6 separate regions of the Homo sapiens genome follow, and regions 2, 3, 4, 5 and 6 are each linked to region 1. The links are contacts of gene promoters, found by promoter capture Hi-C in blood cells and fetal thymus (Javierre and others, 2016). All regions are on one chromosome and are shown on one strand. Each heading gives the region's core, a stretch centred on a gene start or on the middle of the fragment in contact. The rest is flanking DNA. Distances are from core to core; before and after follow the strand shown. Region 1 holds the start of OLFML3 (olfactomedin like 3). Region 2 overlaps NRAS (NRAS proto-oncogene, GTPase). Region 3 holds the start of AMPD1 (adenosine monophosphate deaminase 1). Region 4 overlaps AMPD1 (adenosine monophosphate deaminase 1). Region 5 holds the start of BCAS2 (BCAS2 pre-mRNA processing factor). Region 6 has its middle 21 kb from the start of BCAS2.

Region 1 (3,570 bases), core at 564-3,063:
CAGGTGGAATTTGATTAGCTGCAAAGTGTTCTCCATCTCACCACCTCCACCAGGTCTTCCAGGAGGCCTCCGAGCAAAATAAAGAAAGCCACCATATACCAGCTGCCCTGTGCCTACCCAGGGGAAGGGCACCCGGACTCGGGAAGCTTTCCGGGCAGCCATGGCAAGGGTGAAGTCACGCAGCCTTGGGAAGACAAAGGCTGTGTCATTCTGTGTCCCATCTAACACGTAGATCTTCTCTGTTTGCCCCAGTGGATCCTTGGTCCATAGACCAGCTGGGCCACCAAATCGCTTCAGAATCTTCATTGATCTCACTTGAGAGATTGTGTAGCCACAGTCTGATGAGAAAAGCACAGGAAAAGGAAATAGAGGCAAGAATTAGATGCCTCCAGCAGGAACTCCCCCAGGGTGGGTGATCTGGAGAATAGTGAGCATTTGCCCAGTGGTTGCCTCCAATCTTAGGGAGAATTGAGAAAGAGCGGGTACCACAGCGGCCTGGATCCCCAGAACCTCTCCTTAATAGACCTGGCATTACAGAGGTTTCCCTAAAACAGATTCCAGAAGACAGAGCCACAATGGACTGGGACAAAGCGAAAAAAAGAGTAAGAAGCAAGGAAGGAAGAATATCGGTTCTGAGAAGAGTTAGGGGCCTGCTTTCAGATTATTTACCTGTCACCATATCGTACTTCTCATTCCTTCTTCCCTTGCCTTTGGTCCCAGGGCCTCCAGTCACCTTCTCATCAAACTCTACACAGGGCAGAGCTGGGTTCTGGGTCTCCAGATAGTCTACCTCCCGCTCCAGACGATCCACTCTCCCGGAGATGGTGTCGGCCTCAGTTCTGAGTGCCTCCCGCTCCTTCTCTGCCACCTCCAGCAGTGGCAGCATCTTGTTCTTGAAGTCCCGCAGCTCAGCAGCATGCCGACTACTCTGGTCCTGGCACTGGGCCAGCCGTTCCTGAAGGGATGGGGGATCAGGAGGGAGGCTGCAGGGTTACAACTCCCAGGCAGGGAGAGGCCCAACTCGGGAGTCAGGAATGGGAAAAAAAGAGCAAACTCAGCCAGGCTTCAATATCCCCTTCCACTCCTGCAGAAAAGGAAACCAGATGTGCAGAGGTGCTAAATGTGCAAAGAGCCTAGCTGAGATTCACCTAGGCCCCTACCCCGACTCCATGTCCTCCAGCCTGTGTTCTCTGTGAGCAGTGCCACTGAGCCATCTGAGCCTCTAGGCAGGTCTAAGCGCATGAAGGTGTGAAGAGGTCTCTGCTCCCTTAGCAATTATCCTCTCGGACACTAAAATGCTACGGATCTCAACCTGTTAAAAAGACAGGAAGTTATAGATTCCCCGGGAACCTCCAACTTCAACAGAATCATCACCTTCTCTGGAGATGCAGCCCCACAATTTTGGCTCTCGTTTCCACTCTGCCCCCTTATTCTATCTAATCCCAGAGGTAAAACGCAAAAGTCGATTTGCTTTGGAATTGTTCTATGTGGGGTAAGAGGAGGGCTTGTCATTCCGAAGGTCCTCTTATTAAGAGAGAATTTTCTGTAGACTCTAACAGAGCCCTTTCTTGTTATCCCCAGATCCCTAACAAACTGGTTGAACCAATAGCCCTGGAATCCTTCTAGGCGGGGCTAGAAGAGAAAGGGGTCCCTCACCTCTAAAGCAGCTAGTCGGCGTTCCATGTACTCCACAAGGTGGTGCTGCTGTCCTTGGAGGGGTCCCGACCATGACAAAAGGAACAAGATGAGGAGAGGGGTGCTGGGCCCCATGGCAGCCTGGAGAGTGGTGCCAGAGTAGAAGGAACGTACAGTCAGCCTCTTCCCCTCAAGCCCGAGGGTTAGCTTTGGAGGCGGGGTGGGGGCGGTGCCTTCTCTCCTGATCTCTGGGTCTCTCTCACTACTCTGGAATGCTTTCAGTTCTCTTTACAACCCCCACCCCCTCCTTTCCGCCAGGATTGATCAAACACAGATGGCCCCATTGCACAGCAGCCAGAAGCCTTAACCACCTCCCGCCTAGGCTGTAGGGTCCTCTGGAGGGGAAAGAGATGGAAACCCGAAAGCAGAGGCCTTCTAGGCAGTCAAGCAGGGAAGCTAGCTGCAGAAAGCAGAGACCCCAGAGAAAACTCAGCAAACGCCATTCCTGTTTTAGGAAAGTTTCACCAGTGCTGACTTAAGAAACTGACATTTTTCATTAATCTTTCCCTTTCCCTGCAATAGAGTGGGTTTTCAGCCTTGTTCAGTAGAAGCTGGGAGCTGGGGAGGTGAGGCTTGAAGGGAGGAAGCAGGAAAACAATGGCCCAAGTGGTCAAGCCCAACTTATTCTAAAGCTCATTGGCGCCACCTTGTGCTAAGCAGCTGGTGTCATCTCTCATGATAATACAGAAACTAAGGCTTAGACTTCACCCCATGAGGAAAATTTTCCACAAAAGCCAAATATATTGAATTTACAGGGGTTTTCACCACTGAAATGCATATTTCCCCCAAGACTATCCAATTACTACTTTGGGGGCTATGCAAATATCTGATTTAGCCCAAGGAAGAAAATATAACTGAGATTAAAAAAAAAAAAAAAACAGGTCACTGAGAAGTTAGTAAATTAACTCGATCGTCTGGAAGTTAAGGCTGACAGCAGCGCTGTTTTACATGGCTTTCCTTTGCTTGAAAGAGGCCAGATATAGTCTCTCACCAAAACTGAGGAGTGTTCAGTGAGTTCACACTAATTTACTATACATTCATGTATTGCGGGGGGGCGGAATCTGATATATATATATATGTTGTTGCAGTCTAGATCAATGTATTCTGACTTCCTTACCACTGGGAGAAAAGACTATTGGTTATTTCTCTTGGTTGTGGTCCAAAAGGGTATTTCTGAGTGTTTCTCATTTCTATATCCCAACTAAGGCTGCAGGAGCCCAAAATGAATTAATGGCCACCATAAGGTAGACTTGGGCCATAAGGTAGACACACGGGCCGAAAAAAAAAATCAAATAGAGCATTTACTCAGAGACCTGCAGTCATTAATCGAAACAAACCCCTATTTCTTTATCGGGAGAAATTCTATTCACTTTAGAATCAACAGAATCTGATGAGAGGTTCCTTCTGTAAAAAGGACCATGACTCTAACAGTACAGTTTGAAAGGAGGGGAAAAATAGCAGCTTCCTGTGGTTACTCATCTTTTCATTCTGCTACTGCTATCTGGCAAAACATATGAGGAAACAAAGCTTAATTAGCCGGTCTCAGAAGTCTTCTACCTCTTTCAAAGGGTCAGATCCAGATGATGTGAAGTAAGGACCCTGGACACTGCATTCTTGGGAAGTATTCCCTGCCAAACCCTATTCATTTCCAGTATGGAGATTTGTGTGAAGAATGAAATTGTCTCTAGTACTCTACTGATGTTCAAATACAATATGCTTAGCCACTTTCAAAGATGTCATTTATTGATCCCCTTTATATCCTATAACAGAAGTCAAAAACAGCCACATAAGTCAGAAAATTTACCCATTTTATTGATGCATTGCAATTGCTCTACATTTTACCATATTATGTAGAAAATACTGAAAATACAAGCT
Region 2 (3,570 bases), core at 5-2,504, 740 kb before region 1:
ATCTTTACCCATATTCTGTATTAAAGGAATAAGAGGAGAGAAAGTAAAAAGTTATTTTGGGTATACATTCAGTTATGCAATAAGCTTAACGTGTTTATAGAGAACAGTTCATTTTTATTAGCTGCTGAAGTTTCTAAAACCTGTCCAGTTTTTAACAGTTCTGTAAACTATTGCAAACTCAGTGTTGAGTTCATTCATGAGTTTCTTCATATATAACAGCTCTATTACATGAGAAACACAGGCCATAGTAGCGAGACTGTCTGATTGTATGGGAGATAATAGGATGGAGATAAAGGATTCAGAGATGAGTGTTCTTCAATATTTATTTATTAGCTAGTTGAAGCAGCTGAGACCAGATGATTGGAGTAGCAAGAACTTGAGATTTTTAGTCTTTATGCCTAGGATTTTGGTCCCTGTTTGCAGTTTATTTAGTTGTGTGATATTGAGCAACTGAATCTCTCCCAACCTCATTTTCCTCATGTTTTAAATTACCATAAACTTGTCCTGCCTACCACACAGGGATGTTATGGAAAGTTAAATAATATATTTAAGTTATTTATGAATGGTAAAGCACTATGTAATAGTACTTAGGGATTCTATTGTTATTATGAGAGTTCATGGTACAGATTGTCTTCAGTAAGTGGCACCTAAGGCTCTTTAAATAAAGGGTTTTGCCGGACACGGTGGCTCACGCCTGTAATCCCAGCACTTTGGGAGGCTGAGGCAGGCGGATCACAAGGTCAGGAGTTCAAGACCAGCCTGATCAACATGGTGAAACCCCGTCTCTACTAAAAATACAAAAATTAGCTGGGTGTGGTGGCAGGCACCTGTAATCCCAGCTACTCAGGAGGCTGAGGCAGGAGAATCGCTTGAACCAGAGGCAGAGGGTGCAGTGAGCCGAGATCACACCACAGACCTCCAGCCTGGGCAACAGAGCGAGACTTCGTCTCAAAAAATAAATAAATAGATAAATAAATAAAGGGTTTTGTAATTTTGTTCAGTTTAGAAATGCCTAACTTTAGAGATTATTTTAATCAACACCTGGCCTCCCTACCATCTGGCTACTCGTGTTTAATTGATGAAAACTAACTCTAATGTAGCCACTATAAAAAATTGGTTGCTAACCCTTGGCAAAATCTTTATTTTGAGCTTAACAGCTTTAATATTTTACATGAAATGTTTAATATTTTAATTAAATATTTTTAAATGTTTGATTTATTGAGCAATTTACATAAGTAAAATACATAAATTTTATGTCTACAGCCCAGTGCTTTTTGCGTTTCTATATAGTCATGTAGCTACCACCCAGATAACAGTATAGAGCACTTCCAGTACTCCAGAGAGTTCTCCAAGTGTGATGACATTAAAATACAAGTAAAAGTCCTGTTGCCATAAAACCAAAATGAAAGTATTTTTTATATGATCTATGCATGTTTGTCTTCCTGAGAAATTAAACATAACTATACCTTGTTTGGAACCTTTAAGAATTTGATTCAGGAATATTTCCCAAAGGTACATCTGTCATGATAAAAAAAAAACCTTCTCTGAAACAAAGGTATTTGTATATTTAGTCATAAACACAAATGATGTATATAGGGCCAGGTTATAATTGGTGGAGGTATGTTTAGATTTCTTTAAGTAAAATAAACAGCACAAATAAAACAGTCCAGTTCATAGCTTAGTGAAATACACTGGGTACTTAATCTGTAGCCTCCTGGCTGCAGTAGAGTTGTCATTTGAGTTACTGTGTTTTCTTAATCTTTTCCAGGAACACAGTGACCATATTTCTTTTCTGCAGGCATATAGAATTTGGTGGGTTTTCTTTTATGTAGGGTGATATTGGATACTTTTTGTTTGTGATTATATATTAGCAATTTGAGGGACAAACCAGATAGGCAGAAATGGGCTTGAATAGTTAGATGCTTATTTAACCTTGGCAATAGCATTGCATTCCCTGTGGTTTTTAATAAAAATTGAACTTCCCTCCCTCCCTGCCCCCTTACCCTCCACACCCCCAGGATTCTTACAGAAAACAAGTGGTTATAGATGGTGAAACCTGTTTGTTGGACATACTGGATACAGCTGGACAAGAAGAGTACAGTGCCATGAGAGACCAATACATGAGGACAGGCGAAGGCTTCCTCTGTGTATTTGCCATCAATAATAGCAAGTCATTTGCGGATATTAACCTCTACAGGTACTAGGAGCATTATTTTCTCTGAAAGGATGATCTTTGTGTTCTGAATCTTTATGGGGAAATGAGGTTACCACACTAGGGAAGATAGAGCTTTTTAATTATGGGAAGAGTTGGTTTTAGGTTGTTTGACATTGAGAATCTAGGGTAATTACTGAAAGTTAATACTGGAATTTATTTTACATAATATACTGTTACTATAAAGTTTGATAATACATAAGTGAAGCTTGCTACTGGGAATGACTTGGAACCAGAGTTGTTGTAATTAGAGATCACGAAGGAATTTCAGAGAGGAAAACATCTCCAAGAAACATCTTTCAGTATGTAATGGAAAAGATAGGCCAGGCACAGTGGCTCACACCTGGAATGTCAGTGCTTTGGGAGGCCAAGGCGGGAGGATCACTTTCAGCCCAGGAGTTGGAGACCAGCCTGGGCAACAGAGCAAGACCCTGTCTCTACAAAAATAAAAATAAAAAAATTAGTCACACATGGTGGCAGCTACTCGGGAGGCAGAGGTGGGAGGATCACGTGAGCTCAGGAGGTCGAGGCATGCTCACTCCACTGCACTGCTGCACTCCAGCCTAATCAACAGAGCAAGATTCTGTCTCCAAAAAAAATAAAAAATAAAATGATAGGAGTAAGCAAATAGGAAGTCCATAAAGATGAAAACAAAGCAAGGGAACATAAAGATAGACTTTGTCCATAGAACCATAAAGTTTCAAAGCTAGATTGGACCATAAAAATTCTAGTACAATATTCTTATTTTGCAGAATCAGAAACAGAGTTCAGAATGTCGTTTGTTAGGTTTTGGAGTCAGGATTGTTATTAGTAGCAGAGCCAGGACCAAAAACCCAAAGCTCCTTTTTCTTAGCACAGTGTTCTTAAACAGAATAATATAATGGTTAAGAATGAGAACTCTGCCTGGATTGAAACCTAGCTCTGTTTATTAGCGACGTGACTCAGGGGCTATGTGGCTTTCCTAACCTATAATATGGAAATAATAATACCTACCTCATAGAGTTGTGAAGATTACAGTTTTAATAAATACGCAAATCACTCAGAATAGTGCCTGGCACACAGTAAATGCTACTTAAGTGTTCTGCCTAAAGGCTTGAGTCTTGGCTTATTTTCTATCCATGTGAAGATGTCTGCTCTCAAAAGCAGATTGGTCCAACACTGAATTCAAGTGTTCTTTTCCTAACCTGTTGTACTTCCCATTTTTTTTTTGTCTAAAAGTAATAGCAGTACTTAATAAAATGCCCACACTTGGCATGCATCTAATAAATGTTTTTTGAATTTCTAGAAGTCATTTTTCTTCTTTCTTACAAGAAATTTATTCATTTTTCTATATGCCTTAGCTCAAACCAAAGAGTATT
Region 3 (3,570 bases), core at 518-3,017, 720 kb before region 1:
TGTCAAATGGCCGCTTCTAGCCACAAAGGATTCTAGCAAATGCTGTTTTTTGGCTGAGCACATTAATGCTCAAACCAAAGAAGTTTTTGTTTGTAAGAAAGGTAGGGAAAATGATCTTTGGGTAGGCAACTAGGGTATTTACACAATTGGAATGAGAAAATTGGAGTGTAACTTATATAAAGATAGGAATTACTGAAGGAGAAGCAGGTTCATGGAGGAAGATGCTTGGTTTGGATGTATCAATTTGTGGATACTGTTGGGAAATCCAGGTAAAAATGTAACAAAAAGGAGTTGGAAAGAAATGAACAAATATTTTGGTTCAGTAACACCTTTGTAATGTGTTGCAATATTGTTGATTGAGAGGTTGGCCATAAGGCTAAGCACTAAAATATTGTTAAGTTTTGCCAACAAAAAGGCTTGTCCCAATTTTCAAAAAGAAATAGTTAATAGTAAAAAGATCATTTGGTCTATGCCCATAATTCTGTTGCTAATCTGAAGTGCCAAGCTCATCTTCAATATAAGCTGTTATAATTTAAAATTTCTGCTGAGTCTAGCAGCGTACTTTCTTTACCTAGCAGCAACTATCAAATATTTAGTCATAACTGGCCGGGCGCAGTGGCTCACGCCTGTAATCCCAGCACTTTGGGAGGCCAAGGCAGGTGGATCATGAGGTCAGGAGATCAAGACCATCCTGGCTAACACAGTGAAACCACATCTCTACTAAAAATACAAAAAATATTAGCCGGGCATGGTGGCAGGCGCCTGTAGTCCCAGCTACTCGGGAGGCTCAGGCAAGAGAATGGCGTGAACCCGGGAGGCAGAGCTTGCAGTGAGCCGAGATCGCGCCACTGCACTCCAGCCCGGGCAACAGAGCGAGACTCTGTCTCGAAAAAAATATATGTATATACACATATATATACATATATACATATATATACACACACATATATACAGTCATAACTAAGACTGTGTGTTATTATGGAAAGAGCGTGAGATTTGGGTCCAGAGAGCCTTGGCTTTGCCATTTATGATGAACAGAATGACTTTGAGCAAGATACCTGTCAGAGCCCCAGTTTTCTTATTTGGGAAACAGGGATAAGGTATTACTTGCCTTACAGGATTGTAATTAGTATCAAATAGATAATGTTTGCCAAATGTTTTACATACAATAAAATGTTATACAAAACAAAGCTATTGTTCTTATTATAACAATAGGTAGAGAAGTGGTAACTGGATACTCTGGAGGACAGTTGAGTTTCTGTAAAAGACTTGAAGTAAATTTAACACTTAATTCATTAAACTGTCAACTGAAGTTCTGCTAAGTCAGACACATTACTAATAAAAACATGCATTCCTGAGCGTGTGTGCGTGTGCGTGTGTGTCTGTTGAGAGCTTGATGAATGTACCAGCATATTCACCAACCACAGAAAGCTGTTTGCGTGATGTGAAACCCTGAGGATCATAGCTTCAGAAACCGGAAAGACTTCACTGTATTTCACTAGGGTGGGATATCACCATCAGTGGTCCTACACTTGCCAAAGATCCAGTCTGTAAGAAGATTTAGAGAGTATTGAAATGCAATTTTTGGCCCACCACAGATATCTTCTAATCCCAAAGTAAAGACTGAAAGCTTCACCTGTTTTTCACTATCAAATGCCTCAAGCTATAAATAGGTCCAAAGCTCATCTCTCTCCACTTAGCAGAGAAGAATCAAATTTCCGGGGGCAAAGCAAAATAATAAAATGAATGTCAGGATATTTTATAGTGTCAGTCAGTCACCCCACAGTCTCCTCTCTCTTCTTTTCTACTGTGCTATCCTAGAATCAAGGATTTCAGCAACAATGCCTCTGTTCAAACTCCCAGGTAGGTGTACAAAGTGTTTGGAGAGCTCAGTTGTTGTTGTTTTTTTTTTTTTTTGACAAGCAACTGTTCCTTTAGCTACCATATCAGCTTTGATCATTCATTTAGGGTTCGTGATAGCTTTAACATACATTTCAGGAAAACACAAAATATTTTCAAGGGTTTTTTGTTTGTTTTTAGTTTTGGGATGTGGGTAAGTTTCTAAAACTGTTATCATGTATATTGCATCTTTGATGATCCCAGTAGAAAACTCTGTGAAATATTTAATATCTATTCTGCTAGTCTAAACAAAACCTGTGCTGCCATAGCTCTGAGACGGCTTCTACATAATGACTCTAGCTATGGTATTGGCTGAAAATCATGAACATGACAAAAATAACCCATGTGTGTATTCTGATGGTTCACGAGAATAGCTTTCTGTTGTCCAGGTTTGTACGCAGAGTAATTTTTAAAATAATAATGTTATAATTTTTAAATGATAAAAGCAATACATGTTTCATGTGAAATAGAAATTGTGCTGAAAAAATAAAAGTAATAAACATTCGTTTTGAAAGTTGGGAAATTCAGTAAAAGTAATAATTTTATTTTTTACTTATTTATTTATTTTTTGAGACAGGGTGTCACTCTGTTGCCCAGGCTGGAGTGCAGTGGCACGATCACGATTCACTGCAGCCCCAATCTTCTGGGATCTGGTGATCCTCCCACCTCAGCCTCCCGAGTAGCTGGGACTACAGGCACTTGCCACCACGCCCAGCTAGTTTTTGTATTTTCTGTAGAGACAGGGTTTCGCTATGTTGCCCAGGCTCATCTTAAACTCCTGAGCTCAAGCAATCTGCCTGCCTCAGCCTCCCAAAGTGCTGGGATTACAAGTGTTAGCCACTGCACCCAGCCAAAAGTAATAATTTTAAAAATCTGCACATCCATTATCCAAAGATATTCACTCTTAACATTTTAGTGTTTTTTTTTCTTTTCAATCTATTTTCTGTGTAAAATTAAAGAGTTTTTTTTAAAAAGGCACTGTTATTATATTGCACATGTAATTTTATATCCTGCTTTTGGCAGGATAATGTTTTGGCTTAACTTTACAACTTATCCTTTTACCATGGTATCCCAAACCTTTCCTAAAAACCATTTTAAAAGACTGCATATTCTATTTTCTTAATTAATCCCTTAGGTTCTTTATGGTTTGGGGGTTTTTTTTTGTTTGTTCGTTTTTGTTTTTGTTTTTGTTTTTTTAGAGACAGAGTCTCGCTCTGTCACCCAGGCTGGAGTGCAGTGGTGCGATCTTGGCTCACTGCAAGCTCCACCTCCCGGGTTCATGCCATTCTGCCTCAGTCTCCCGAGTAGTTGGGACTACAGGCGCCTGCCACCACGCCCGGCTAATTTTTATATTTTTAGTAGAGACGGTGTTTCACATATAACACAGTGAATATCTGTATTAGCCAGGATGGTCTCGATCTCCTGACCTCATGATCTGCCAGCCTCGGCCTCCCATAGTACCAGGATTATAGGCGTGAGCCACTGCACCCGGCCTCTTTATGGTTTTTTTAAGTATAAGTATGTTCTGATAACAATATTGACACCTAAAGCTTTTTCCATGTTTAAGGATGATTTCCGTAGGATAGCTTCTCAGAAATGGTTGTTTGGTAGGTGTTACTAAATTGTTTACCAAATGAGCTGTTTTAAGTTTACTACTACCAACATCATATG
Region 4 (3,570 bases), core at 279-2,778, 700 kb before region 1:
GCTACCTGTCTTTGTGTTCTGTGTGACCTACTGCAATGCAAGAGTTTCATCCTGTCTCTTTAACCAAAAAAAGTAATTTTTTGACTGGGATAATACTTCCTAATAGGCAGAGAGGCAGTAGGTTGGTTAGGAGTATAGATTCTGGACCCAGAGTGGTGATACTTGAATCCTGGCAATACTTAAATCAAGGTAACACAACCATTTAGCTGTGTTACCTTGGGTTAAGTTATATCACCCCATTGTGCCTTAGTTTCATCATCTCTAAAACAAGGTTAAAAACAATACCTAACTTATTGAGTTGTTATGAGGATTACATTAGCTAATATTTCTGGTCACTTAGAAGAGTGCTTGGAATATATTAAATGCTATATCAGAGTTTGTTAAATTGCAGATCAGAGGTATTCTTGGTAATCATTTCCTGTTCACTGTCTTGTAGTTACACACATATATTGAAGCTTTTATGACGTAATTGCATATTCCTCTATGAGGACTTAGCTGTGAAGGTTTAGTTTTCTTATGACAAAGGTTTGTAAAAAAGATGGGGACATAGGGTCCACCAAAAAATTTTTATTTCCTATGTGCTGCCCAAACTGAATCCCTCTCTATAGGGGACCAAAAAGAATGTATGAGGAGCATGGACCTAGGATAGATATACCACGTCTTTTCCTGTGCATGACATTCGATTCTCTGGTTCCCTCATACTGGGGCTATCAGTCCTAAAAATCTTTTTTTCTCCTAAATTCTCTTCATTCTTGCCTCTAGTGATGTGTTCCGTTCCAAGAATTTCCTTCCACATTTTGGAAAAATGCTGGAGAATATTTTCATGCCAGTGTTTGAGGCCACCATCAACCCCCAGGCTGACCCAGAACTCAGTGTCTTCCTCAAGCATGTAAGCATGACCCTTCAGGCCTTCATACTGCTGCTCATGAACCAGCCTTCCTACCTGGTCATGACTAATTCTTGGTGCTTATCTCTTTATGTTTGGTCTGTGCCTTTGGACCTGAAAGTTTGTGTGAGGACTGGGACCCTGAAGTTGGACTGAACCCATTGCATGGCTCACTTTTCCTAACAGATCACTGGCTTTGACAGTGTGGATGATGAGTCCAAACACAGTGGCCACATGTTCTCCTCCAAGAGTCCCAAGCCCCAGGAGTGGACATTGGAAAAGAATCCATCTTACACTTACTATGCCTACTACATGTATGCAAACATCATGGTGCTCAACAGCCTGAGAAAGTAAGTAGGAGACAGCTGGAGCTAGGAGGGTCTATTTGACACAGCTCTTTCCACATATATTGGCAATTAAGGTGGTCAGGGGCCTCATGCATTACTGTGATGGTTCCAATTGGCCCAAATCAGAAATTTCTTTCTCTTAACTTTTTTCTTCAGTTTATTTATTTTGGGGCAGAAATCGGTATTTCGATGCTTTCAATAACTTTCACAGTTCCTTTTTTTTTGGGAAGTTTAGGAATTTATACTAATCATTGTGCAATTAATGATAAAACTTCATATATTTTGCCCTTCTTGATATATTTGGGTAAGGAATAAGTAGAGGAATATTATACTGGAGTTTTCTGGAAACATTTCTCCCTTAAAATTTGAATAGAATAGAATAAATGATGAGATGTTGATATTGGTAAATTTCCTATTGAGACTGAACGTATTTCCATCCAGGCAATCAACACTTTATTTGCTTCCTTACCCCCATATCCTCTGCTGCCTCTTTTTGGAAACTTTGTATTTAGCAAGAATTAAGATTATGATTTGGGACTGTTTTGCTGAATCCTTTGGATGGCTTACTTCCTTCCAGAGTGTTCACTTTTCTACTGAATTTTCTTGTGAATCACTCCATACCCAGAACCTGCGATTCCAATAGCAGTTCTATTTCCCCAGGGAACGAGGCATGAATACGTTTCTGTTCCGACCTCACTGTGGAGAAGCTGGAGCCCTCACCCATCTCATGACAGCATTCATGATAGCAGATGATATCTCTCATGGCCTAAATTTAAAAAAGGTGAGTTGGAAGCTCTCTTCTTAACTTTTACATTGGAGCTAGAGGAATCTTTTTTCCCTTAACCAACCATACTGTCACAAGTCATTATCGACACTGCAATCATAATCAAGTAGAGCATAAAAGATTTTTTAGTTTAGTGCAGTTCATTCTACAGAAAGAAGTAAAGGGACTTGCTCAAGATTACCTTGCTAGTTGCTGTCAGATAAAAGTTAACGCAGATCTCCTGACTTCTAGCTTAGAATCCTGACAAGGGATAATTCAGAGATGGCCTGGCTTTCCTTAAGCTAGTTTTTGCCAGATTTCTTGTTATAGCATGCTTCAAGATGTTTTTTTGTGAGAGTCAGAACTTTCTTGTAGAGAGAGAGAGAAAAAATAATGTTTCAAGGCAAAGTCTTTTGCCTGAGACAGACCATCTAACGTAGGCCATTATAGATCAAATAAACAATCTGGTTTGACTCAATGTTTCTGAAAATTAATGTATCCTAAGTACATTTATTCTAAATAGCATTTACATTGAAAAACTCCTAAATTCTCCTTACTAAGAGACTTGAAGAACAAGTGATAATTTTGTTGAAAGCTGAAGCTTAAGGCAGACCATGAGATTGTAGTGTTTCTAGTTTGTATTCCTTTTTCAACATCTTTAAATATTTTTTTACTTTTCTTTTTCAGAGTCCCGTGCTACAGTACTTGTTTTTCTTAGCCCAAATTCCCATCGCCATGTCACCACTAAGTAACAATAGCCTATTTCTAGAGTATGCCAAAAATCCTTTTTTGGATTTCCTTCAGAAAGGGCTAATGATCTCACTGTCTACAGATGACCCAATGCAATTCCACTTTACCAAGGTATAGTATGGACTTGGGCAATACAAGCATATTTTGCTGGACTGTTGTTTCCCGTCCAGAATTTGAAAGTCAAATAAAGGTATTTCATTATTTTTTCAGGCAGGATGCATATTATTTATTAATTCACTCCTCTTTTTTCCTCATTTAATATAACTGCAGGAGCCCCTAATGGAAGAATATGCTATTGCTGCACAAGTCTTCAAGCTGAGCACCTGTGATATGTGCGAAGTGGCAAGGAACAGTGTCTTGCAGTGTGGAATTTCTCATGAGGTAGACCTGTCTTCAAATGGCTTCCCTTCTGAGTATAGGGTCTGCTAACTTGAATACCGAAAAAGTAGTTGGGAAACACATGTAGAAAAATTGTTCCACGAATCATATGCAGTTACTATGGACAGGGACTAGAAGGGATTATTCTATCTCTTTGCCTGTGCCTTTTGGGCCAGGGAAGTAAAATACACTTGATTTCTCAGCAGACTGTGAACACTGAGGCACTAGATGGGTGCTTTTAATGGTCTATTATTATTATTCTTTTGTCAGTGGCTAACATAAGGAAGGAATTTTTGTAAAGAATGCAATTATTGTCTATACCAGGGTGAAAAGAGACAACAATCATTCTGCCATCCTTTTCTCTTATAGGAGAAAGTAAAGTTTCTGGGCGACAATTACCTTGAGGAAGGCCCTGCTGGAAATGATATCCGGAGGACAAATGTAGC
Region 5 (3,570 bases), core at 790-3,289, 600 kb before region 1:
GTACTTTTAGTGGAGACGGGGGTTTCACCATGTTGGCCAGGCTGGTCTCGAACTCCTGACCTCAGGTGATCCACCCACCTTGGCCTCCCAAAGTGCTGGGATTACAGGCATGAGTCACTGCACCCGGCCTGTGTGTGTGTGTGTGTGTGTGTGTGTGTGTTTTCAAACTCATGGGCAAATTCAAGTTCAGATGGTGCACTTTTCATTGATTAATGTTATAGCAAATGTCAGTTTGTTTTCTTCAGTTTCTGCTGATGGTTTTAACTGGCACAGAAAGTATTTATTCAACCTTACAAAACTGTGTAAGTTGTATTGTGATACAGTTTATTGACTTGTACAGTATTGTCATTACAACCCATTCAGGTATGCATGAATCTGAAGCAGAACACCATTTAAGACTGGTGCTGTATAATATAATTCCTACAGATGTGGGTCCAGGGAATAGAACTGAGCCTGTCTTTTTTTTAATGTTAAGCAGGTTACCCCCAGTGGGGCTTCTACTAGACATCTCTCCATTTGGTCTCTTCTTACACTCCAACCCAGCAGGAACAGTTAATAATTGGATGTTTATAAAATGGGGGTAAAAGGGTTTACTGTGATGGATCCTGGCTATCCCTCTAGGAGGAGACCTTTGCTTCAGCAATGGTGTCTTCATCCTCGCAGCCTGAAGCTGCTTCATTTCCTTAGGTCTGTTGTGTTTTCTGTAAAGTGTTAGGAATTCTGGATATTTTTGTAAAAGAATCAAGATTTGTATAAAATGTTGTTTACAGATCTTTTAATGAATAAATACATAAACCCCCCACAGATCCCTTGGAGAATTCTTTAAGATCTTTTATGTCACTTAAATCTATAGCTAGCACATTTACCTAATGGTACTTCGGTAATAAGAATTAGTCTTAGACTGACCAGGCTTAATAACGGAGGTCAACATTTCCAGGCTCTTGGCAGACAAAGGCTGGGTCTAGACTGCACACTGGGCAGGGCATATAGTCTGACAACTTTATTTGGTTTTTACCTGCTTAATCAAAGGGAGGCTGCTTAGTCCAGGAGCCATGCAGAAGAGAGTGCATGGGCAGCAGCTTGAGTGGTTCGGAGGCAGTGAGGAATGCCATTCTATTACCGTTAAGTCCTAAAGGCAAAATGACAGGATTTTTAAGGAACTGAGGTTCCTTTTGATACGCAGACCATAAAGCTTCACAATTTTAATTGGAGACTGGCGCCCAATTCTAGAGTCTCTTTAAAAAATGTACTTACCCAATGCAAAGGTTTTAAGGGCACCGAGGGGGAAGGATAGTTGGGGTACAGCAAGGAAGTAAAAGAGGAATGACCCGGGGTGCAGTGGCTCACGCCTGTATTCCCCACATTTTGGGAGGCCAGGAGTTCGAGGCTAGGCTTGGCAACATAGAAAGGCTCCATCTCTACAAAAAAAATTAAAAATTAGCCAGGCATGGTGGTGTGCACCTCTAGGCCCAGCTACTCGGGAGGCTGAGGTGGAAGGATCGCTTGGGCCCGGGGGGTTGAGGCTGCAGTGAGCTATGATCACGCCACTGCACTCCAACCTGGGCAGCAGAACAAAGACCCTGTGTCTACAATAAAAAAGGAAAAAAGTCTCGCACAGAGGAAGAGAAGATTAAGGGGAGAAGGTGGGAGTAAGCAGAGGTGGGAAACCAGTTTATCTCTCCCCGCCAAATGCTGCAGCCAGTTCCCTCCAAAAGTGTTAAGGGGCTCCCTTTCCAGATATCAATGTTTTGGAGGAAACGAAAAGCCCCAACTTCAAATCGCCGCCATTCGCAGGCAAAAAAAGGGGCAGTAAGCAGAGGACAGGAAATTGAGGCCTTTCGCTGACGCAGACAAGCCAAGACGTTACGTCACGTCCGCCCAAAACAAACCAGCCCGGCAATTTCTAGATACCGGGCGGACCCGCCTTCAAAATTAGCAACTGAGCATGCACTAACGTCAATACGGAGGGAACGTGATTACATCAGTGTCAGGCGCCGGCGTAATTAAATATAACTGAGTTTACGCAGACGCAGAAAACGCAGGCAAACCTGAGGTCCTCAGAATGGCGGGCACAGGTTTGGTGGCTGGAGAGGTTGTGGTGGATGCGCTGCCGTATTTTGATCAAGGTTATGAAGCCCCTGGTGTGCGGGAAGCGGTGAGTGCGGGGTGTCTTTGTAGCTGACTCACTGCTAGCTGGCTCGGTACTGAAAGAAACATGTTACAATTTGCCACTTCTACCCTGGTCCCTATTCTCTTTCTTAGGCTGCAGCGCTGGTGGAGGAGGAAACTCGCAGATACCGACCTACTAAGAACTACCTGAGCTACCTGACAGCCCCGGATTATTCTGCCTTTGAAGTAAGTATGTCTTGAGCCTAGGTGTGAACGAGAATTCCTGTGAACCTTTATTTTGGATTGAGAGCTTTAAATTCCAGTTTTAACCATTGCCTGCATAGCTACTACTTACCTACTGTATAGGTGTCAGTCTATTGAAAACAACTAGATAGATAAGTCTTCTCCGAGGTTCTTATTCTAAGATCCATAGGAAGACTTTCTGGGGCTCCACAACTCACTTAATGCAAAAATTTGTGGCTACCATTCTTTGAGATAGGATCCATGCGTAAATTCTCAAAGGGACCCTCTCCTGCCAAGATTCACTCTACAGCAAGTGATCTAGGGTTTTTTAATATGTATAAGCCTAATTACCTAAGCTCTTTAGAACCACTGGAGAGTGGCATATTAAAGTCTAGTTATTTACCAAATGTATGTGATACGACTGAAAGGACAAACCATATCCAAGTGTATACTACTTTTTTCTCAGCCTTCTCCTTTTTTCTGTAATCTATCCGATGTTTTTATTAACACATTTCTGATTAATGTAGGCAATAATTTTCACTGATATGAATACTTTACAAGTGCTAGGTGCCATTCTAGATTCTGAGATCATAGAGATATATGGGGTTTCTTTTTTAATATATTTTGTTTTCTTTTAATTTTTCTTTTCTTTATTTAAGACAAACATCCTCTCCAAAAAAGATAGGGTTTCTGAATACAGAAAAATACAATACAGTGAGGAGCTAGATATATAAAACAAAAAGTTTACAATAGTATGTATAAATGTGTAATAATATGTAAAGGACCTATAGCGGAGGGTATGTATAAGGACAAGAGGATTAGAGAAGGGAGTGTCCATGATTGCCTAAGGAGTCAGATGCTGTTCTACTCCACACATTGAGTATGATACTATTTTAAATGTATAACCTTGAAGTACACCCAGGATTCTAGTTAGGGTCTAGTTAGCTAAATGAAATGTAAGATATCATTTCTAAATTATTGGATTCAAGTATTTCAGTATGTACAGCTTGGAGGATTTTTTCCCATTATACCTAATCGTTTATTTATGAAAGGATTGTATTATTAAAAGGCAGTATTTAGCTGGGTGTGGTGGCTCACACCTGTAATCCCAGCACTTTAGGAGGCTGAGGTGTGAGGATCACTTGAGACCAGCCTGGGCAACATAGTGAGACCCTTTCTCTACAAAAGAAAAATTAAAAAGTTAGCCAGGCATGATGG
Region 6 (3,570 bases), core at 751-3,250, 580 kb before region 1:
CCTTTCCCCATTTCTTTTTTTTTGTCAGGTTTGTCAAAGATCAGATGGTTGTAGATGTGTGGTATTATTTTTGAGGGCTCTGTTCTGTTCCATTGGTCTATATCTCTGTTTTGGTACCAGTACCATACTGTTTTGGTTACTGTAGACTTTGGGGGCAGGGCATAGCCAAACAAAAGGCAGCAGAAACCTCTGCAGACTTAAATGTCCCTGTCTGACAGCTTTGAAGAGAGTAGTGGTTCTCCCAGCACGGAGTTTGAGATCTGAGAACGGACAGACTGCCTCCTCAAGTGGGTCCCTGACCCCTGAGTAGCCTAACTGGGAGGCACCCCCCAGTAGGGGCAGACTGACACCTCACACGGCCAGGTACCCCTCTGAGACGAAACTTCCAGAGGAATGATCAGGCAGCACCATTTGCTGTTCTGCGGCCACTGCTGCTGATACCCAGGCAAACAGGGTCTGGAGTGGACCTCCAAGGGTCTTTTTAAGAGGGAGGTAGAAGGTGGAAGGTTAGAGAGGAGAAAGGTTGCTAACCTGCAGGCCTTAAAGATGAAGGAAGGGGACCATGAGCTGAGGAATGCAGGTGGTGTCTAGAAACTAGAAAAGGCAAGGAAACAAATCTCCCATCAGAGTGTTGGCCAGGAGAAACTGCTTTGCGGACCCACTTTGTTCTGACTTTCAGAATTGTAAGATGATAAATATGTTTTGCTTGAAACCACCCACTTTATAGCAATTTGCTACGGCACTGATAGGAAACTAATACAATAGTTGGTAAAGAGTGATGATAAATGTTGAGGAAACTAATACAATAGTTGATAAAGAATAATGATAAATGTTTGATTTAACATGGTGAAAAATCTACATATGTTTATTATAGGCAAATCAGAAAATGCAGATAAAAAGAAAATGAAAATTATTCATAAGACTGCCACTCAAGGTACTATGTTTATTTAGTGCCAGAAGAACACAGAAACCACATTTCATTTAATTTCAATACAAATTTGTTGGATACCATAGAATCAAAAATAAGTTGGACTAATGGGACACTCTGTAAACCTGTTCATGAACAGAAGTTTCTATTTCTGTTTCACCCTGCTTTCTACCCTGAGAACTAAGATTTATTATATTAGACCCACTTCACTTCCTCTATCCTTAGAAGTCTATTTCTGGATATTAGAAGTCTGTTTGCAAGTGACAGAAAGCTAACTAAAACTACCTTAAGCAGTAAAGGGGGATTTATTGGTTCATTTAATTTGTAAGCACAGAGGTGGAACTAGCTGCATCGTCAACTAAATCCAGGGATTCCAGTTGGGCATGGTGGCTCATGCCTGTAATCCTAGCACTTTGGGGAGGTTCAGGCAGGAGTTTCAGGCTGCAGTGAGCTATGATCACACAGCTGACTCCAACCTGGGTGACAAAGTGAGACCCTGTCTCAAAAAAAATTTTTTTTCAATAAATAAAATATAAAAAATAATTCCAGAGATCCCGTGTCGTCCTGTTTTTCATCTCTCTGTTTCTCTTTCTGGCCATATTGTCTCCTACAAATAGGCTTCCTCTATACAACAGAGGCCAAAGCCACAGGCAGCTCCAGACTTACATCATCTCAGTTTAGCAGCCTTAGAAGGAAGCAAATATATCAGTATATATTATTTCAGAGGATTTTGATTGATGTGCTCTAAATTTCACGTTCAGTCCTTAGAGTCAGAAGTATAGCTAGGACTTGGGGGCACTGTGATTGGCCAGATATCGATCATATACCTGTAGAATTGAGGGTAGAGTACTATGCTTGGCAGTTGATTGGATTGGAGTAATAGCTCCCCAAAGTAAGATAGGATGGCGCTTCTATCAGGAGAGGAAGTAGTTGGGCAGATAATGACAACATGTCTATTACACCCTGGATCTTACCTGAGTTAAGAGGCAACCCCTTGGCCAGGAGCAGTGGCTCGCGCCTGTAATCCTAGCACTTTGGGAGGTGGAGGGGAAAAGATCACTTGAGGCCAGCAGTTCAAGACCAACTTGGCCAACATAGTAAGACCTCGTCTCTATAAAATAGAGAGAGAGAGGTAACCCCTTTCACTTAGCTGGCCCAGTATGATAAACAGTTCACCCAACTACTCCCTAGGATTTTTTTCTTTCTAAAGAAAAATATAATAGGTTATATTTATTATGGCATAATTTTAGTAGTGGAGAACTGGGATGGTCTGTCTGTTTCATAGTTTGTGCTGGGAAATAGCCATAAAAGTCAATAAGCTGGCTATTGTGGTTTGTTGAGAGATGTGGGCCAAGTAATTTGTTATTCACTGTAACTTAAGATCTGCAGTTTTTAGCTGGGCACGGTGGCTCACACCTATAATCCCAGCACTTTGGGAGGCTCAGGTGAGAGGATCGCTGAAACCCAGGAGTTTGAGACCAGCTTGTGACCTACATAGTAAGACCCCTATCTTAAAAAAAAAAAAATTAAATGAATAAATAAATAAATAACCTGCAGTTTCGTTTTTGTGTTTTGAGACAAGGTCTCTCTCTGTCACTCAGACTGGAGTGCAATGGTGCAATCCTGGCTCACTGCAACCTCTGCCTCCCAGGTTCAAGTAATTCTCCTGCCTCAGCCTCCCGAGTAGCTGGGGTTACAGGCACATGCCACCACGGCTGGCTAATTTTTGTGTTTTTAGTAGAGATAGGGTTTTGCCATGTTGGCCAGGGTGGTCTGAAATTCCTGTCCTCAAGTATTCCACCCGCCTTGGCCTCCCAAAGTGCTGGGATTACAGGTGTGAACCACACCCAGCCAAAACCTGCAGTTTTTAATAACTTTCTTTCTAAATATATCATACAGATTCAAGATGATCCCTATGCATATCTCACTTGGTTGTATTTTTACATGTCTTTGAGAAGGAAAGGGGTAAACCCAGAACTTGTTGTCTCAGTGACTTACTGTAGCAGGGACTACATACTTGCCCCTCTAATATATGTTATCCTCTCCTATAATAATAGAAGTTTTAGCTGGGCATATGGATGCTCAACTAAAAACTTAACTGCTAGCTTCCCATCCAACCATGTACATATGCTGTGTGACTAGGTTGTGTCCAATGAGATAGGAACTGAAGTGATGTGTGCAACTTTCAAGTTCTGCTTTTAGTTACCACATTTTACCAACCAGAAATCTTTTTTTTTTTCTTGAGACGGGGTCTCACTCTGTTGCACAGTCTAGAGTGTGGTGGCACAATCTCAGCTCACTGCAGCCTCAATCTCCCGGGCTCAAGTGATTCTCCCTCCTCAGCCACCCGAGTAGCTGGGATTACAAGCAGACGCCACCATGCCCAGCTAATATTTCTGGTTTTTGTAGAGATGGGGTTTCATCATGTTGCCCAGGCTGGTCTCAAACACCTGGGCACGAGTGACCCACCCACCTTGGTCTCCCAAAGTGCTGGGATTCCAAGTGTGAGCCACCACACTCAGCCAACAGTTTCTCTAACATATTTTTTTTTCTCTAGATCTTAAAAACATTTGGTCAAGGAATTTAGATATGGACTTTAAGGGTACATAATTCAGGATAATAAAAAGCTCAGCTTCATCTTA

Evidence for each region. Contacts are between HindIII fragments. The CHiCAGO score rates a contact against its expected background, and 5 or more counts as called.
Region 2: a fragment that was not itself captured here is called in contact with the fragment with the promoter of OLFML3 in region 1 in 3 of 17 cell types (M1 macrophages, M2 macrophages and endothelial precursors); the score reaches 5.8 in M1 macrophages.
Region 3: a contact is called between the fragment with the promoter of AMPD1 here and the fragment with the promoter of OLFML3 in region 1, in 4 of 17 cell types (total CD8 T cells, endothelial precursors, erythroblasts and 1 more). The highest score is 7.3, in total CD8 T cells.
Region 4: a fragment that was not itself captured here is called in contact with the fragment with the promoter of OLFML3 in region 1 in 6 of 17 cell types (M1 macrophages, endothelial precursors, total CD8 T cells and 3 more); the score reaches 8.8 in M1 macrophages.
Region 5: the fragment with the promoter of BCAS2 here is called in contact with the fragment with the promoter of OLFML3 in region 1 in 14 of 17 cell types (total CD8 T cells, total CD4 T cells, naive CD8 T cells and 11 more); the score reaches 15.8 in total CD8 T cells.
Region 6: a contact is called between a fragment that was not itself captured here and the fragment with the promoter of OLFML3 in region 1, in 6 of 17 cell types (total CD8 T cells, megakaryocytes, naive CD8 T cells and 3 more). The highest score is 7.3, in total CD8 T cells.

What each region holds. Positions count from the first base shown.
Region 1 is chr1:113,977,717-113,981,286 of GRCh38, reverse strand. OLFML3 (olfactomedin like 3) reads right to left here and starts at 1,813. Exons shown (of 3, transcript NM_020190.5): 1 at 1,657-1,813; 2 at 670-955; 3 at 1-338. The coding sequence starts at 1,770. HIPK1 (homeodomain interacting protein kinase 1) reads right to left here. Exons shown (of 16, transcript NM_198268.3): 16 at 3,418-3,570. RefSeq lists enhancers at 1-68, 1,736-2,569. The HindIII fragment of the contact is 3,076 bases long and covers 149-3,224 here.
Region 2 is chr1:114,712,427-114,715,996 of GRCh38, reverse strand. NRAS (NRAS proto-oncogene, GTPase) reads left to right here. Exons shown (of 7, transcript NM_002524.5): 3 at 2,019-2,197. Among named protein-coding and RNA genes, the nearest start is that of NRAS, 2.6 kb to the left of the region's middle. The HindIII fragment of the contact is 2,336 bases long and covers 87-2,422 here.
Region 3 is chr1:114,693,743-114,697,312 of GRCh38, reverse strand. It overlaps AMPD1 (adenosine monophosphate deaminase 1), which reads left to right and starts at 1,767. Exons shown (of 16, transcript NM_000036.3): 1 at 1,767-1,863. The coding sequence starts at 1,842. The HindIII fragment of the contact is 1,819 bases long and covers 1,633-3,451 here.
Region 4 is chr1:114,673,196-114,676,765 of GRCh38, reverse strand. AMPD1 (adenosine monophosphate deaminase 1) reads left to right here. Exons shown (of 16, transcript NM_000036.3): 11 at 763-889; 12 at 1,073-1,236; 13 at 1,894-2,014; 14 at 2,684-2,857; 15 at 3,017-3,127; 16 at 3,494-3,570. Among named protein-coding and RNA genes, the nearest start is that of DENND2C, 4.9 kb to the right of the region's middle. The HindIII fragment of the contact is 2,142 bases long and covers 458-2,599 here.
Region 5 is chr1:114,580,084-114,583,653 of GRCh38, reverse strand. It overlaps BCAS2 (BCAS2 pre-mRNA processing factor), which reads left to right and starts at 2,039. Exons shown (of 7, transcript NM_005872.3): 1 at 2,039-2,155; 2 at 2,263-2,355. The coding sequence starts at 2,063. DENND2C (DENN domain containing 2C) reads left to right here. Exons shown (of 21, transcript NM_001256404.2): 21 at 1-804. It overlaps LOC105378914 (a long non-coding RNA gene), which reads right to left and starts at 1,811. Exons shown (of 3, transcript XR_947719.4): 1 at 1,255-1,811; 2 at 1,016-1,129. The HindIII fragment of the contact is 8,807 bases long and covers 1,195-3,570 here.
Region 6 is chr1:114,559,087-114,562,656 of GRCh38, reverse strand. No RefSeq gene overlaps it. Among named protein-coding and RNA genes, the nearest start is that of BCAS2, 21 kb to the left of the region's middle. The HindIII fragment of the contact is 7,376 bases long and covers 1-3,570 here.